5 separate regions of the Homo sapiens genome follow, and regions 1, 3, 4 and 5 are each linked to region 2. The links are contacts of gene promoters, found by promoter capture Hi-C in blood cells and fetal thymus (Javierre and others, 2016). All regions are on one chromosome and are shown on one strand. Each heading gives the region's core, a stretch centred on a gene start or on the middle of the fragment in contact. The rest is flanking DNA. Distances are from core to core; before and after follow the strand shown. Region 1 holds the start of TPPP3 (tubulin polymerization promoting protein family member 3). Region 2 holds the start of CES4A (carboxylesterase 4A). Region 3 holds the start of PLEKHG4 (pleckstrin homology and RhoGEF domain containing G4). Region 4 holds the start of HSD11B2 (hydroxysteroid 11-beta dehydrogenase 2). Region 5 holds the start of KCTD19 (potassium channel tetramerization domain containing 19).

Region 1 (2,859 bases), core at 315-2,814, 400 kb before region 2:
AAAAGAGGAAGAGGCGCGTGTATAAAGTGCGAACGTCTGAGACCTCGGATCCGGCGTCGGGTGAGCGCCTCTCCCTGTCCGGGTCCTGCTCTGGGAACTCGAGGGAGGGGAAGGCAGAGCCACAAGCGAGCCGCAGCCACTGGGCTCATGTTCCCTTCCCTTGCGCAGGGCCTAGGGCCCCCAGCCGCCGCTCCAGCTCGTCGACGGATTCCGCGGACGCCAGCCCTGTGCACGCCGCTGGCCCTGCCGGCGCCTACCACTCGGCGTCGGCAGAGTCCGTGGACGAGATTCCAGTGGCGCAGACGCGCCTGGGCAGCGCCGCTCTGGCCGCCCCGCGGGGCCGGGGCCGACAGCCCACGCTGGCGCGGCAGGCGCGTGCGCCCGCCGTTTTCGTGAGCCCGAGCAGCGGCGAGCCCAGGGCGCCGGGCGGCCGGGAGGCTGGTCTGGCTTAGCTGGGCCGAGAGGCCGGAGGGCCGAGTTAGAGCGGCCGGCCTGACTCTCTATGCAACACCCCATCCTTGCCGCACCGAGTGCACTTTAGGGGCCCCTACGGCCGGCGGGATCGGCCTCCCTCCCCCACGACTCAGCAATACCCGCCCCACCGGCTGTGATGCTCCAATAAACTTTTTTATGCTTTTGCGGACGTCGCGCTTACTTTCTTAATGGCAGGGGCCACGGGCCATCCAGAAGCCCGACCCTGGCCAGTGGACCGGGGGCGGGGAGGAGGTCCCTGTATAGTAGGTAGCCACCCAGGCTGCCCTGTGGAGGTGCTCACGTGCGGCTCGTGGTTAGGAAAGGCCTTAGAAGGCGGCCTGGAGGAGGTTATTTTTCTTAAAGATGGGCTTTGCACTGGGAGGCCGAGAGAAAGCAGGCTTTGGGCTCCGAAAGCAGCAGTGGGCGCTGAGGCTGCGAGGCCGTGGGGAGGTGGCGGCGAAAGGAGGGGGCCGAGCCAGGAGGTCCCGCAGCTTTTCCCCGGCAGCAGGGCTGCCGTCGAATGCCAGCATCCTGGGGCTGGGCGAGCGCGATTCGCTCGTAGGGAGTCCCCTCCCTTCTTCCCCACTGCTCCAGGCTCTGAATCCTACCCAAGAGAGCACGGGAGTTGTGGCCTGGGGGTGCCATCCGTTCAGTGGATGGCAGTGCTCTTGAGTCAACCGTATACCCCTGTCACTGAGGGAGAGCTCCTTCCCGATTCCCCAAGCCCCACCAATGCCCCGCGCAGCTCCCCAGTGGCCTCTGGTTGACTCTCTGGGGAGCTGGATCTCTTCTGGAGATTGGGGCCGCTTAGAGCTTTAGGCACATCCCAGGATGGGAGGCTGTTTCCTCAGGGGGCCGTCCGAAGACGCCCCGAACTGCAGAGCGCTGGTCTCGCCGTCGCGAGGACCGCGGAGTTGCGGGGGAGGGGCGGGATGCGGCTCCCGGAGAGTCTCGGGGAGGGCGGGGCCTCGTGGGCGGGGCCGGCGTGACCTTGGTCACTCTCCCGCCGAGACAGCCTCGGGGGTGGGACTCGCCGTCTCTATGGAGACCGAGAAACAGGGGATAATACGGCGGAGCCGCCTGGGCTGCAGTCCCACCCGGGAGCCGGCAGGGAGCGGAGCTGCGGAGCCGCCTGGTCTCCCGCGTCCATCGGTCCATTCCTGCGTCGTTCTGTCCTTCCGAACGCACACTTCAGGAGCAGCCGCGAGGTAGAAGCCCATAGGAGACCCAGATGCCCGCCACCCCAATCAGTATCCTGCACGATGAGGGTTGGGGGGAGCAGCCTGGAAAGGGTCCCAACCTCCGGCGGTCCCAGCCGAGGAGCCAGCTGAGCGGCCCTGCCCTGGCCCCAAGCATTCCACCTCGCAGCCCCCACCTCCTGGTCCGGCTGATTGATGACTCCAGCTGTCCCAGTGGGAGCGGGACGGGTGGCTCCAGTTCACGGGTGTGGCCACTCCATCCATGGCCTGCAGACCCATGGGGCTGCGGCCTGCAACCCAGCGCCACCTGACCGCGCTGAGATGACCAAGAATCCATCTTTCCACGGACAGGAGTGAGCACTGCACGCAGGATCCGCCCAGTGCTTGGGCCAAGCACCCTGTGGCATCCAAGCTCCCCTGGACGTTACCCTTGGTGAACCAAGTGCGGGTCTTGGGGTCCCTGGTGGGAGGTTGCACCCAGGGAAAGGGAAGGGGAGTGCAGCGTGGACTGGGGTTATGGTCCCTGTAACGTAGGAACCACCGGTGCTCACAGTCCCAGAAACTGCCACTTAGGGATGGGAGTGTGGTCACTGGCGAGGAGTTTTTGGTGGAAGATGGGGCAGCCGGGCAGAGCCCAGGCCGTGGTCACTGGAAGCCCTAGTGTAAAAGGCAGAGCTAGAAGATGGTTGCTGAGACCGAGGGTGTGGTCAGGAGGTGGCAGTGGAGGAGGGGGATGTGGTGGGGAGGTCTCTACGCAGGGGATCTCCGCATAGTACCTGGGAGTCTTATAATGTTAGTGTGTGGATGTGGACTGGGGCCTTCAGTGCAGGCTGAGGGTGTGGCCAGAGGGCTGAGGGTGTGTGGACAAAGGGGTGCTGAGGGTCAGGGCGCCTTGATAAAGGGCTGCGGGTATTGGAGGGGGTGAGTGGCTGAGGCTATGGTCAGGGGTCTCAGGAAGGGATGCAGGTTTGTGGCCAGGGGCCTCAGCCCCAGGGCTGCGGGTGTGGGGATGGAGAAGGCTGCTGTGTAGGCTCAGGGTGTGGCCAGGGGTCTGCAGCGGAGGGCTGTGGGTGTGGGGGGCACTTTAGTGCTGGACTGTGGGTATTACTGGGGTTGGCGCAGGCTTGTTAGTATATATGTGGGGGCTGGTGGCCGAGGGCTGTGGCTGTGGGTGTGAAGATGGAGG
Region 2 (2,700 bases), core at 2-2,501:
CTTGTTGCCCAGGCTGGAGTGCAATGGCACGATCTCGGCTCACTACAACCTCTGCCTCCTGGCTTCAAGCGATTCTCCTGCCTCAGCCTCCTGAGTAGCTGGGATTACAGGCATGTGCCACCATGCCTGGCTAGTTTTGTATTTTTAGTAGAGACGGGGTAATAATATTGGTTAGGCTGGTCTCAAACTCCTGACCTCAGGTGATCTGCCCGCTTCGGCCTCCCAAAGTGCTGGGATTACAGGTGTATCCTTGTAAGTTAAAAAAACTTTTTAAAAAATGTTTTTTAAAAATAGAGACAGAGTCTATTTACCCAGGCTAGGTCTCACTATTTGCCCAGGCTGGTCTCAAACTCCTGGGCTCAAGTAATCCTCCCACCTCAGCCTCTCAAAGTGCTGGAATTACAGGCATGAGCTACCATGCCTAACCCACTGGAAATGTTCTAGATGTTGATCTGGATAATGGTTACCATATATATATATATAATAATTAGTATAATAGATATAATTATACAGTGAAGATGTGTGCACCTTGCTGTATACATCTTATACCTCAGTAAACTTTTGTTAATGTATTAGATTGTTTTCACAGTAAAAAGTGTAGTACTCATTTTAAAAAGAAAGATATTGGGGAGAAATTTGAAGGTGGTAAAGAGGTTCATGTAGCAGAGAGGGGGCAGAGACAGGCCTCCTGCTTAGGAGAAGGAAAGAAGGATGGAAGGAAGGAAAAAGGTGGGAAGGAAGAAAAGATGTGGCCATGTTCTCAGACCCCTTCACCTGTGCCGGGAGGCAGGAAATACAGAGAAGCCCTGAGGTTCAGGGAGGCTAAAGGACTTGTCCAGACTCCCAGCTGGTAGATGGTTTAGTGTCCTGAAACCCTACCCTCCATTTGCCCAGGCCTTGTCTAAGTGCTCCTGCCCTGCTGTCCCCAGGAGAGGTTGAACTGGGGCCTGTCCCTCCATCCCTTGTGCCCGTCTTGCCTGACACTCTCGGGAAGGGGTGGGGGTCTTACCCAAGGCCGTCTGCGCCATCAGGCAGAGGGTGAGGCTCCAGCACAGAATCCACCTCATGCTCCAGCCAGCTCCTGCTGTGGGCAGGAGTGATGGCAACACTGTGGATGGCAACACTGTGGATGGCATGGTAGCCGTGTCTACAGTGTGTGAGCACACTTTTATCTGCTCTTAATCCCTGCCAGCAAGTACTGGGGCGGGAGGAATTGTAACCAGCTTCTGACCAGCCCACAGCCTTGTCTCTGCCTTGGGCAACAGGTCACGCTAGATGATCTTGGCTCTTCAAACTGATCAGCCTGCAATCTCCGCCCCGTTTGCTCATCTGTGCAGTGGCTTAAAGCTGAACATGTGTGAGTCAAGGTCTAAGCATACAGTGGGTGCCAAGATTGAAGTAGAACACCTGGTTACTTGGCCCTTCAGCCAGGGCTTCCTGTCTGTGGATTTAAGGGTCTTGGGCCTCCCTGCTCCCCAGTGCCTCGTCTAGCCTCTTCCCTGCCTTTCCTCGCACATGCTGACCCTTGGCTGTCCTCACAGTTTCATAGTCCACATGCGGAAGCTGGACCTGAAAGCAACCGTAATGTGGGAGCCCAGAGGGGCACCCGAGGAGTGAGCCCAGAGCCGGGTGGTGGGAATGAAGATTCCCTGGAAAAGATCTAATCTTCTAAGTAAAGGATGAGGAGGAGTGGGCCAGGCAAAGAAAGATCCTGTTTGAAGTTTGGAGCCACAGGAGCAAGTGTGGGAGGTGGAAGCAAGGAGACAGCAGTCCCATCTTCAGTCAAAGGTAAGATGGGGCTGGGTGTGGTGGCTCATGCCTGTAATACCAGCACTTTGGAAGGCTGAGGCAGGTGGATCACCTGAGGTCAGGAGTTCGAGACCAGCCTGGCCAACATGGTGAAACCCCGTCTCTACTAAAACAAAGAATACAAAAATTAGCTGGGCGTGGTAGTGTGTGCCTGTAGTCCCAGCTACTCAGGAGGCTGAGGCAGGAGGATGGCTTGAACCTGGGAGGCGGAGGTTGTAGTGAGCCGAGATCGGGCCACTGCACTCCAGCCTGGGTGACAGAGTGAGACCCTGTCTCAAAAATAAATAGGCCAGGCACGGTGGCTCATGCCTGTAATCCCAACACTTTGGGAGGCTGAGGCAGGCGGGTCACGAGGTCAGAAGATCGAGACCATCCTGGCTAACACCCCGTCCCTACTAAAAATACAAAAAATTATCCGGGCGTGGTGGCACGCGCCCGTAGTTCCAGCTACTCAGGAGGCTGAGGCAAGAGAATTGCTTGAAACCAGGAGGCGGAGCTTGCAGTGAGCCAAGATGGCGTCACTGTACTCCAGCCTGGGCGACAGAGTGAGACTCCATCTCAAAGAACAAAAAAAAGGTAAGATGTTTCCTCTCTCGTGTACCCCCAAAGTCTGGGGTCCTGGCCCATCTTTGTGAAAAGAGGGTCTGTTGGGCTTCTGTGCTGGGGAGGGGAAAAGGCAGGGGAACAGAGAACTTCTCCCTTGGCCCACAGCCTCTTGCTCTATAGGCCTGACAGATGGTTAAACCTCCTTCTTTCACAGTCAATTTTCTGAGTTCTTCGGAGATGCTCTTTATTTGGGACTCCTCTCCCACAGTTCCCATCCTTGTGACCCTTCCTCAGTCCCAAGGAATGTGGCATTCACTGCCCAATCATTGCTGCCTGGGCTCTGTG
Region 3 (2,700 bases), core at 180-2,679, 290 kb before region 2:
CTGCTGCACTCAGACTGAAGCCAGGCTGGGCTGTGGGCACACAGAAGCAGCACTGCCCGGCCTTGGACATCCCGAGTCCCTGTGGGGAGGAAGCAGTGAACTCCTGCCGTATTGGGCCACTCCACCTCCACCGCCTCTAGGCCCGCCTGGCTACCTGGCAAGGTGGCCATACCACTGGCCAGCAGCTCCCAACAGAGGTCTTGGGCCAGGAGGCAGTCAGCAGGCTTAGGGAGGCCGGATCCACTGGGGGCTTGGGAAGGGAAATGACTTGGGTCTGCCTTGGACCACCTATCCAGAGACCCCTACTTGGACCCGGGCTTCAGCCTGAGTAGGGTCAGAGACCTCCAAAGTCTTGACACTCATCTCTCCAGGCATCCCCATTCCCTTCCCAGACTTCCCTAGCCCAGCCTTCCTTACCTGCCTCCAGCAGCTTTGATATTTCTGATAAAGGGTCTCCAAGGCCCACAGGGTCGCTGTCCAATGCCCCAGGGCTCAAGCCAGATGGCATCGCCCTGCTTGGACCTGGGTCCCCTACCAACCCTACCCCTGGGGTGTCACTCTCACCCTGTGCCAAGCTGAGGTGGGAGGACATGGGGCATAGGAGACTCTCCACTCCAGAGGGGCCTGGCCCTTCTGACAGGACTGAGGAGCTTTCTACTGTGCCCCTCTGGGCATCCCCCGACTCATCTGCAGCTGGGGGTAACTGGAATTTCCTGGACAAGGGGCTGCCCTGTAGCTCCTCATCCTGGGTGGCCCCGGCTGGTGGTCTTGGAGGACCTGGGTCCTTAACGTGCATCTGGGAAGCAGGTTCCTCCTCTTCCCAGGCATCCCTGAAACTGCACACAGCAAATCTCCAGTCGGTGGCATGGCCCTGAGAGTCTGGGGACTCATCCCCATTCTCCAGGGGCCTTTCCATCACGCCCTCCTAAAGGTGGGCCTGCTCGGGGCCAGCGGGAGAGGGCTGGGTCTCAGTGTGAACCGCGCTGAAGACAGTCGAGTGGGACTCAGTGGGCAATGCAGGCGAAGGGCATGGGCCGCAGGAGGTGCCAGTCTTAGTGCCAGGGCACAGGAACTGCAATTCAGGCCTGGGAAGAGGGAATAACGTTAAGGGTGTCCCTCTGTCCAGGTCCCCCGTCGGACGCCCGTGGGCCTCTGCTCCGTGCGCGCCCACCCTCAGCGTCCTCACGGCCACGCTCTGCAGGCCCATGCCCGTGGGGGCGGCCCCGCCATGGCACCACGATGCCTCGGGTTCGCTCTCCTGCCGGCCCCCCCAGGCCCTGGCCTTGTTGCAGGGCCTACCGCGCGCCCCCCCGTCGCCCGCTGGCGACACTCACGCCCCCGGGCCGAGCCGCGGGGAACCGTGAAGTCGGACAGCCTTCGAACAGACGGCGGCCTCGACGGCCACTACAGCGCGGCCGCGCGGCGTCACGGGACACCGCCTCCTGGCCGCTGGGAAGGGAGGGCAGTGCCGCCGGGGCGCCGCGCAGCGCCGCGCCGCCCCCTGGAGGCCGGAGGACGGAGCCACAGCCCGAGCAGGTCTCGACGGGGCACAGCCCTGCCGGCGCGGAAGACAAGGTGCGGGCCCTGCAGCAACCCCCGCCCGCCGCCGTCCTCTCCGTGGGCCCGGACAGCCCGCCAGCCCCGCCCCGCCGCACCCCCGGGCCCCGCAGACCGCGCGCCTCACCCGCGGCGTCGCAGTGCGTGGGTTGGGGCAGCGACCAACGGTCGGCAGCTCCACCGTGCCCACTCCCCGGGCCTGGCGAGGACGCCGGAAGCGCTCTCCCGCCAGGAAGGCCGCGTGGGTGAGCGAGGGTGAGTGCGCGGGGGGCACCGCGGGACGGGGCGGGGCGGGGTCTCCCAGGGGCTTCCGCGGCTGAATGAGCCGACGGGAGGGGAAGGCCTTCTGTGTAGGGAAGCGGGGTGCTGCCTCGCCGCGGGCACCCAGAGACAGGTCGCATGATCCCACGTGGGATGGGGCTGCCATCCGGGTGGGAGTGAGACCAATGGGTGGAGCTGACCCAGGCCTGCCAGAGTCCACCAGATCCTCTACCCCTTTGCCATCCCTGGCACCCCCTTACCCCCTTCTCCACAAAGTCCGGTGCAGGAGGCTGGTGCTGAGGTGGGGTTCTGGAGCCAGAGCCCCCAGCCCAGGCCTGGCTTCTCCACTTACCTGCTGGGGGCGCTCCAGGAACTCTGCTCTTTGAGCCTCACCCTCCTCACCTGTAAAAATGGAAAGTCATTTTTCTCCTGGGGTTGCCGTGAGGACTGGGGAAGACTCCCTGTGTTATACGTTCACCCGCTGCCAGCACTCGGGCTGTGTTGGTGCCCTGCCCCCTCATTTCACCCGCAGTCAGGGAATCCTGAACTGATGAAAGCTACCCAAGTGGGTAGCTGTGCGATTTGAGGTCCCTTTAGGGCATGTGGGCCTGGCCCGACACTCCCCAGAATTTGTGGGAAGATTGTGGGAAGGTCAGCTCTGCGACCAGGAGAAGACCCTGAGCCCCACAGTGTGCCCAGGCCCATGGTCCCTGGGGAGAGGGGGCACCGGGTGCAACGGCTTCCCTGGCTCTAAGGCAGGCACCTCTTTCATGAACCTGGGGATTACAACAGGCACAGTGGGACCAACAGCAATCTCCCCACCCAGCCCAGCCCAGCCCCCAGAGTCCAGACTTTCAGGCAGCTACCGAGGAGCCTTCTTCA
Region 4 (2,700 bases), core at 54-2,553, 440 kb before region 2:
TGCCCCAGCAAAGGCCCAGCGCAAGGACAAAGCCTGGAGCACCTGTCCAAAGCCGTGGGTATTGGCGAGAGACCAGGCTGCTCCTCCCACGATGCAATGGAGTCAGTGCCCCCTGGCCTTTCTCCCCCTCCCCACTTCCGGCGGGCCTCCAGCCCCCCCCCCCCTTCCCCTTCCCTCCCTCTGGTGACAGATTTATTCCCTGCTCCAGACAAAGGAGCTCAGCTAGGCGGCCAGAGGCACCTGAGCCCAGCTCTCTAAGAGCTCCTTCCTGGGCACAGAGGACCAGGAGGGCTTGGGGGTGGGGTGCTGGGTGTAGGCTCCAAACTACTGCCTCAGCAGTTTGGCAGTGGGTGGCTAGACAGAAAGACAGCTGAATGTCCAGCTGCCCCTCACGGTGACCTCTAGCTTTTCTGAACTCCAAGGATCCCAGCCAGTGGGGGATGGGTGGGGTGGGGAAGTTCCCCATCTAAGCTCTTCCCTCTGGCCCGAGGAATGGGAGATGGGTATCTTAGGTGGGGATGTCAGGCAGAGTTCAAGGGGTAACGATCCTCCCTTCTCAAGGCCTCCGAAGTCCCCTGAGACTGCTCTCTTGGGGAAGGGAATGGCATAAACTCTCAAACTCCAGGAGGTTCCCTCTTCTCAGCCACCAGTCAGTTTCCTTCTCGAACCGGCCCACTCCCTGTCTCACTTTCCCTCCAACACTCCCCGCAGCGGCAGGTAGTGAACCCGGGCTTGGGGAGGTGCCCGGCGCTCCCTATTTGGCTCGCTCCCTGCACCCAGGGGTGGAGAACTCTCCCACTCTTGCGCTGAGGAGCCCGCCTTGGCTGTGCCCATGGGGAGTCAGTCCTGTTGAGTGTCCAGTCCCGCCCTCGAGCCTGGAGTCCCCGCGCTCCGCGACCCGCGCACTCACCGGTGATGAGCACCGCGCGAGTGGCCACCGGCAGGCGCTGCGGGCGCGCCAGGCGGGACAACGCGATCCAGCCGGCGGCGGCCAGCACGGCGAGTGCGGCCGGCGGGGGCAGCAGGCGCTGGCACAGCCAGTCGAGCGCGGCCAGCAGCGCCAGCGCCGCCAGCAGCGGGCGGCCCAGACGCAGGTCTGAGCGCAGCAGCTGCAGCAGCGCGCGGGCAGCCACGAGCAGCCAGGCGCCGCCCGACGGCCAAGGCCAGCGCTCCATGGCGGCCCAGCGGGCTGGGGCGGGGCGGGGCGGGGGCCGGGCCGGGGAGCGGGGAGAGAGAGCTTCTAGGCCGGGGCGCGGAGTGCGGGGGTACACCGGCCTGGGGCGCGAGAGGGACACTCGCTTTCTCTGCTCGCCCTCGGGCCGAGCTTATGAAGAGCCCCGGGGGCGGGGGAGAGGGCGGGGAGCGGGAGGGGCGGGGGCGGGGCTTTCCTTCACTTCTCTCCCGGCACCCCCCGCAGGGCAGGTGCTCCCCCCCCGCCCCGCCCCCTCGACCAGATTCGATTTGGAAAAAGCCGGAACAAAGTCCCAAAGTTGCTGCGCTCGAGGAGCCGCCTGGCTGCGGGCGGTGCTTGGGAGAGGGCCCGTCGGTCCAGCCCGGGTGCCCGGCCTCAGCTCTCCGCCGCGCCCCCACCCACACGCCCGGGGCCGCCAAGCCGCCGCGCTCAGGTGAGCACATGCCACTCACGCTTGTTCGGGACACCTGAGGACACGCACAACCGGCATCCCGGTGCCCTTTGCTGATCGCACCACCGCGGCCGCCAAGCCTGCAGGAACACCGCGAGGAACCAGCCGGTGCTCACCCGGTCTCCGCTGCCGCTGCCGCTGCCGCCCGCGCCCGTACACGCGCCGCACTCCCACGTGGTCGGCTGCGCCAGGTCCCTGGCGCACACACCCTAAGGCGCGCTCACCCCTGAGCAGCTCGCGGCCACAAAACCTGCCTGGGACAGGGGCTGGCGGGGGAACAGGACGACCGCTCCCGGTTCTTGGAGTCTCTGCCCCGTCTTTCCCTTTCCTTCCAGGGCTTAAACCTGGGGACGCACAACCCCACTTCCTGCCTCACAAATGTATGTGTGTGGGGGTCAGTGGAGGGTGGGGTGTCAGAGGAAGCACCTAGGTCTCCCATTACTTATGGCCCACCCCCGCCAACCCCAAGAGCCAGGCCAGAGGGACGTCGGTGAAGGCAGCCTCTAGGACAGGGTGGTCCCTGCCTTGCTCCCCTGAACCCCCAGGGGGTAAAATAAGTGGTATGAGTGTGGGTGGATTTTTCTGCCTGCGTGTGTGAAGGTCTCCATGCTTGTGTGTGGCCCAGTGGCCCCCCACCCTGCCCACCCCCGTGTCTGGCACCCTGTGCCTAGCATCCATGCCAGGGCTCTGCCAGGCACTGGGAGTTGGTGCCAGTACCTGGCTGCAGGCTTGATGCTGAGAGCAGTAGGTGTAGCCCTCGACAGAGGGGTCCCTGCTTCCCGTGGGCTTCCAGGCCGTGCTCAGTGCCTCATCCCTGCCCTCCCAAGATCCTGGGAGGTTGTGGACTCCCTGTCACACTTCCTAGCCCTGTTGCTCATTCTCTCTTAGGTGCCCAGGCTCTGCCAGGGTTTCAGGGCAATGCCTCCTCCAAAGCCCTCTCTGCCACCAGACACAGCCCCCTGGTGAGCCAGGGAAATCTCAGGGGAGGCTGGGAGCCAGACCCACCTAAAGGGAGAGTCTCTGGGTGGAGGACCAATTTGCCCTGAGCCACTCCTGT
Region 5 (2,939 bases), core at 160-2,659, 340 kb before region 2:
TTCCCCCCTCTACCAAATTAATCATTAGACTACCGACATGCTCTAGTATATCCTTCCTGTTCTGTTCTTGACTGCACATCATACGCTTCAGCTACCATCTATTTCTGCAGTCTCTTTTACAGCTAAAATTTTCAGCAAAAGTTCTTACTTTCACTGTCTCTTCCCCTCAAATATCATTTCCCTTTTTCATCCCACTCCAATCTGGTTTCCCTCCTCCCCACCCTCCCAAAACTCCCTCTGTCAAGGTCACCAGTAAGTTCCATGTTGCTAAATCTAACAGACACTCTGCATTTAAGTTGCTCAGCCTGTCAATAGCATTTGGCACAGTTGGCCATTGCTTGCTCGATACACTACCCCTTCTCAAATTCCAAGATACCACATTCTTCCTCTATACAACCTCTAAACACTGAAATATTCCAAGGTTGAGTCTTAAGCTTTCTTTCACTTCTCCATCGACATTCTCTCCTTAGCTGAGTTCATCCACTCCCGTAGCTTTAAATACCACCTATTGCTAATGTCTCCAAAATTTTCATCTCTAACCCTGACCTCTCCTCTGAGGTCCAGACCCATATATCCAACTGCCTACTAGGTACCTTACACTTGGATGTCTAATAGACATTTTATTATTTATTTATTTTATTTATTATTATTATTTTTGAGATGGAGTCTCGCTCTGTCGCCCAGGCTGCAGTGCAGTGGTGCGATCTCGGCTAACTGCAACCTCCGCCTCCCGGGTTCAAGCGATTCTCCTGCCTCAGCCTCCCGAGTAGCTGGGATTATAGACTTGAACCACCACGCCGGGCTAATTTTTGTATTTTAGTAGAGACGGGGTTTCACCATGTTGGCCACGCTCAGGTGATCCACCCGCCTCCGCCTCCCAAAGTGCTGGGATTACAGCGGTCAGCCACCGCCCCCCGCAGTTCTGTCACCTGCGGCAGGGTCCCCTGTTAACCTTGTTTCTCCTTCCCTACTTCACACTCCCCTCTTCTCTCTCAATTCCTCGGGCTCTGCCCCACACCCTCCCGTTACTTCAGTTCCTCCACCTCCACCTCCCTCTAACCTTCTGCCTCAAGTTATCCCCCCGCCCCCCAGCCTCAGGTACCGCTTCTCTGTGGTTCCCTCGCCTCTATCTCAGGTTCCCCGCCTTCCACTTCAGTTTTCTTTCCACAGCTTCTGACCCTACGTTCCCAGTCCACACCCTCCCGGCCAGACCCTACCCGGCTGCTCCAGCGTCAGCGCCCCCAGGCGGCGAATGCCTTCCTCGTCCAGCTCCCATTGCTCCGCCATCCCCGCCCGCCGCTCACCTGCCACCGCCCGCGAGACCACCCGGCGCACGCCAGGCCCCGCCCACTGCCCCGCCCCCCGCGCGCGCGCCGCCGCGACCCCGGGAACCGTTATTGGCCGGGTCACAAGCCCGCCCGCCCGCTGCTGGAGCCGCGACCATGGTACGGAGCCCGCTCTGGCGGGGGCGCCAAAAGCACCAAAGCGGCGAATGGGGGCCGCTGTGGCCAAGGATTGGGGCTAAGTGGTTCGAGACCTGGCTCTGGGGCATGGGAGAGAGCGAGGGGCCCCCAGCCGGGAAGGATTTGGGGGGCTGGCTCTGAGGAGTTAGAATAACGCTCTGTCTTGAGGGATGAAGTGTTCTGGCTCTGAGGATGTGGGGGACTCCGGTTCTGAGGGCTGGGCGTGTGCCCCTTTGACGGGGTGGTCTTCATATCTCAGCGCTGGGGGATGCTGACTTTGGGGCAAGGCGAGGGTGTGTGTGAAGGGGAGATCCAAATCTGAAGGATTGGAGCGTGGGGACAGAACTCTAAGGCATGATGGGGAGCTCCAGATCTGAAAGGTTGGGAATCCTGGCTCTGAGGAGTTGGGGTCCTGTCTTTAGAGCATGAGGAAGTTCTAGCTCTAGAAATTGACTTGGACGGGCTGGGCGCGGTGTCTCACGCCTGTAATCCCAGCACTTTGGGAGCCCGAGGTGGGCGGATCACCTGAGGTCAAGAGTTCAAGACCAGCCTGGCCAACATGGTGAAACCCCATCTCTACTAAAAATACAAAAATTAGCCGGGTGTGGTGGCACGGCCTGTAGTCCCAGCTACTCGGGAGGCTGAGGCAGGAGAATCGCTTGAACCCGGGAGGTGGAGGTTGCAGTGAACCGAGATTGCACCACTGCACTCCAGCCTGGGCGACCTGAGTGACAGAGCCAGACCTTGTCTCAAAAAAAAAAAAAAAAAAAAGGTAAGAAATTTACTTGGACGGAGCTTCTTCGGGGGAGAAGGATCAGCGTGGGAAAGAGAGAAGCTCTTTGTAATGGGGTGGGGATGACTGCTTTAGGGCTACCCCGTTTCCTGAAGTCAGTCCGGCAAGAAGCCTTTTGTCTTTCAAGCACCACAGGTTCCCCTAAGCTTGCCTGTGACTGAGGGCTGTCGCCAGGCTGCGATAGCTCTGCACTAACCAGCCCCTGAGTAGTCTTTGGGAAAGAACAGCCGCATCCCTAACCCCTACCCTCACTCCAGCAGGCACTTAAGAGCCCACCTGTGGATGGGACATGTATGTAAGAAGGAGCCAGGACCCTCTTGTCACACCCTATCCTTAACAAGAAAAGAGGGTGGGCTGGGCGTGGTGGCTCACGTCTGTAATCCCAGCACTTTGGGAGGCCGAAGCATGTGGATCACGAGGTCAGGAGATCGAGACCATCCTGGCTAACACAGTGAAACCCCATCTCTACTAAAAATACAAAAATAAAACAAAATAAAATAAAATAAAATAAAATAAAGCCGGGCGTGGTGGCGGGCGCCTGTAGTCCCAGCTACTTGAGGAGGCTGGAGGCTGAGGCAGGAGAATGGCGTAAACCCGGGAGGTGGAGCTTGCAGTGAGCCAAAATCGTGCCACTGCACTCCAGCCTGGGCTAGAGAGCGAGACTCCGTCTCAAAAAAAAAAAA

The links. Contacts are between HindIII fragments. The CHiCAGO score rates a contact against its expected background, and 5 or more counts as called.
Region 1: the fragment with the promoter of TPPP3 here is called in contact with the fragment with the promoter of CES4A in region 2 in 1 of 17 cell types (erythroblasts); the score reaches 5.1 in erythroblasts.
Region 3: the fragment with the promoter of PLEKHG4 here is called in contact with the fragment with the promoter of CES4A in region 2 in 2 of 17 cell types (neutrophils and naive CD4 T cells); the score reaches 7.1 in neutrophils.
Region 4: a contact is called between the fragment with the promoter of HSD11B2 here and the fragment with the promoter of CES4A in region 2, in 13 of 17 cell types (erythroblasts, neutrophils, total B cells and 10 more). The highest score is 15.2, in erythroblasts.
Region 5: the fragment with the promoter of KCTD19 here is called in contact with the fragment with the promoter of CES4A in region 2 in 12 of 17 cell types (erythroblasts, neutrophils, monocytes and 9 more); the score reaches 9.9 in erythroblasts.

What each region holds. Positions count from the first base shown.
Region 1 is chr16:67,392,203-67,395,061 of GRCh38, reverse strand. TPPP3 (tubulin polymerization promoting protein family member 3) reads left to right here and starts at 1,564. Exons shown (of 4, transcript NM_015964.4): 1 at 1,564-1,682. ZDHHC1 (zDHHC palmitoyltransferase 1) reads left to right here. Exons shown (of 12, transcript NM_001323627.2): 11 at 1-60; 12 at 169-910. The coding sequence ends at 452. The HindIII fragment of the contact is 5,780 bases long and covers 1-2,859 here.
Region 2 is chr16:66,987,140-66,989,839 of GRCh38, reverse strand. CES4A (carboxylesterase 4A) reads right to left here and starts at 1,251. Exons shown (of 14, transcript NM_001364782.1): 1 at 1,010-1,251. The coding sequence starts at 1,067. The HindIII fragment of the contact is 37,432 bases long and covers 1-2,700 here.
Region 3 is chr16:67,278,261-67,280,960 of GRCh38, reverse strand. It overlaps PLEKHG4 (pleckstrin homology and RhoGEF domain containing G4), which reads right to left and starts at 1,429. Exons shown (of 22, transcript NM_001129729.3): 1 at 1,335-1,429; 2 at 418-1,085; 3 at 155-250; 4 at 1-79. The coding sequence starts at 916. It overlaps LOC124903701 (a long non-coding RNA gene), which reads left to right and starts at 1,550. Exons shown (of 3, transcript XR_007065092.1): 1 at 1,550-1,812. RefSeq lists silencers at 1,396-1,577, 1,297-1,726, 1,777-1,936. The HindIII fragment of the contact is 13,408 bases long and covers 1-2,700 here.
Region 4 is chr16:67,429,724-67,432,423 of GRCh38, reverse strand. HSD11B2 (hydroxysteroid 11-beta dehydrogenase 2) reads right to left here and starts at 1,303. Exons shown (of 5, transcript NM_000196.4): 1 at 911-1,303. The coding sequence starts at 1,175. RefSeq lists silencers at 1,185-1,364, 1,585-1,634. The HindIII fragment of the contact is 16,145 bases long and covers 1-2,700 here.
Region 5 is chr16:67,325,211-67,328,149 of GRCh38, reverse strand. It overlaps KCTD19 (potassium channel tetramerization domain containing 19), which reads left to right and starts at 1,409. Exons shown (of 16, transcript NM_001100915.3): 1 at 1,409-1,445. The coding sequence starts at 1,443. LRRC36 (leucine rich repeat containing 36) reads right to left here and starts at 1,335. Exons shown (of 14, transcript NM_018296.6): 1 at 1,218-1,335. The coding sequence starts at 1,287. RefSeq lists a silencer at 1,293-1,442. The HindIII fragment of the contact is 1,968 bases long and covers 437-2,404 here.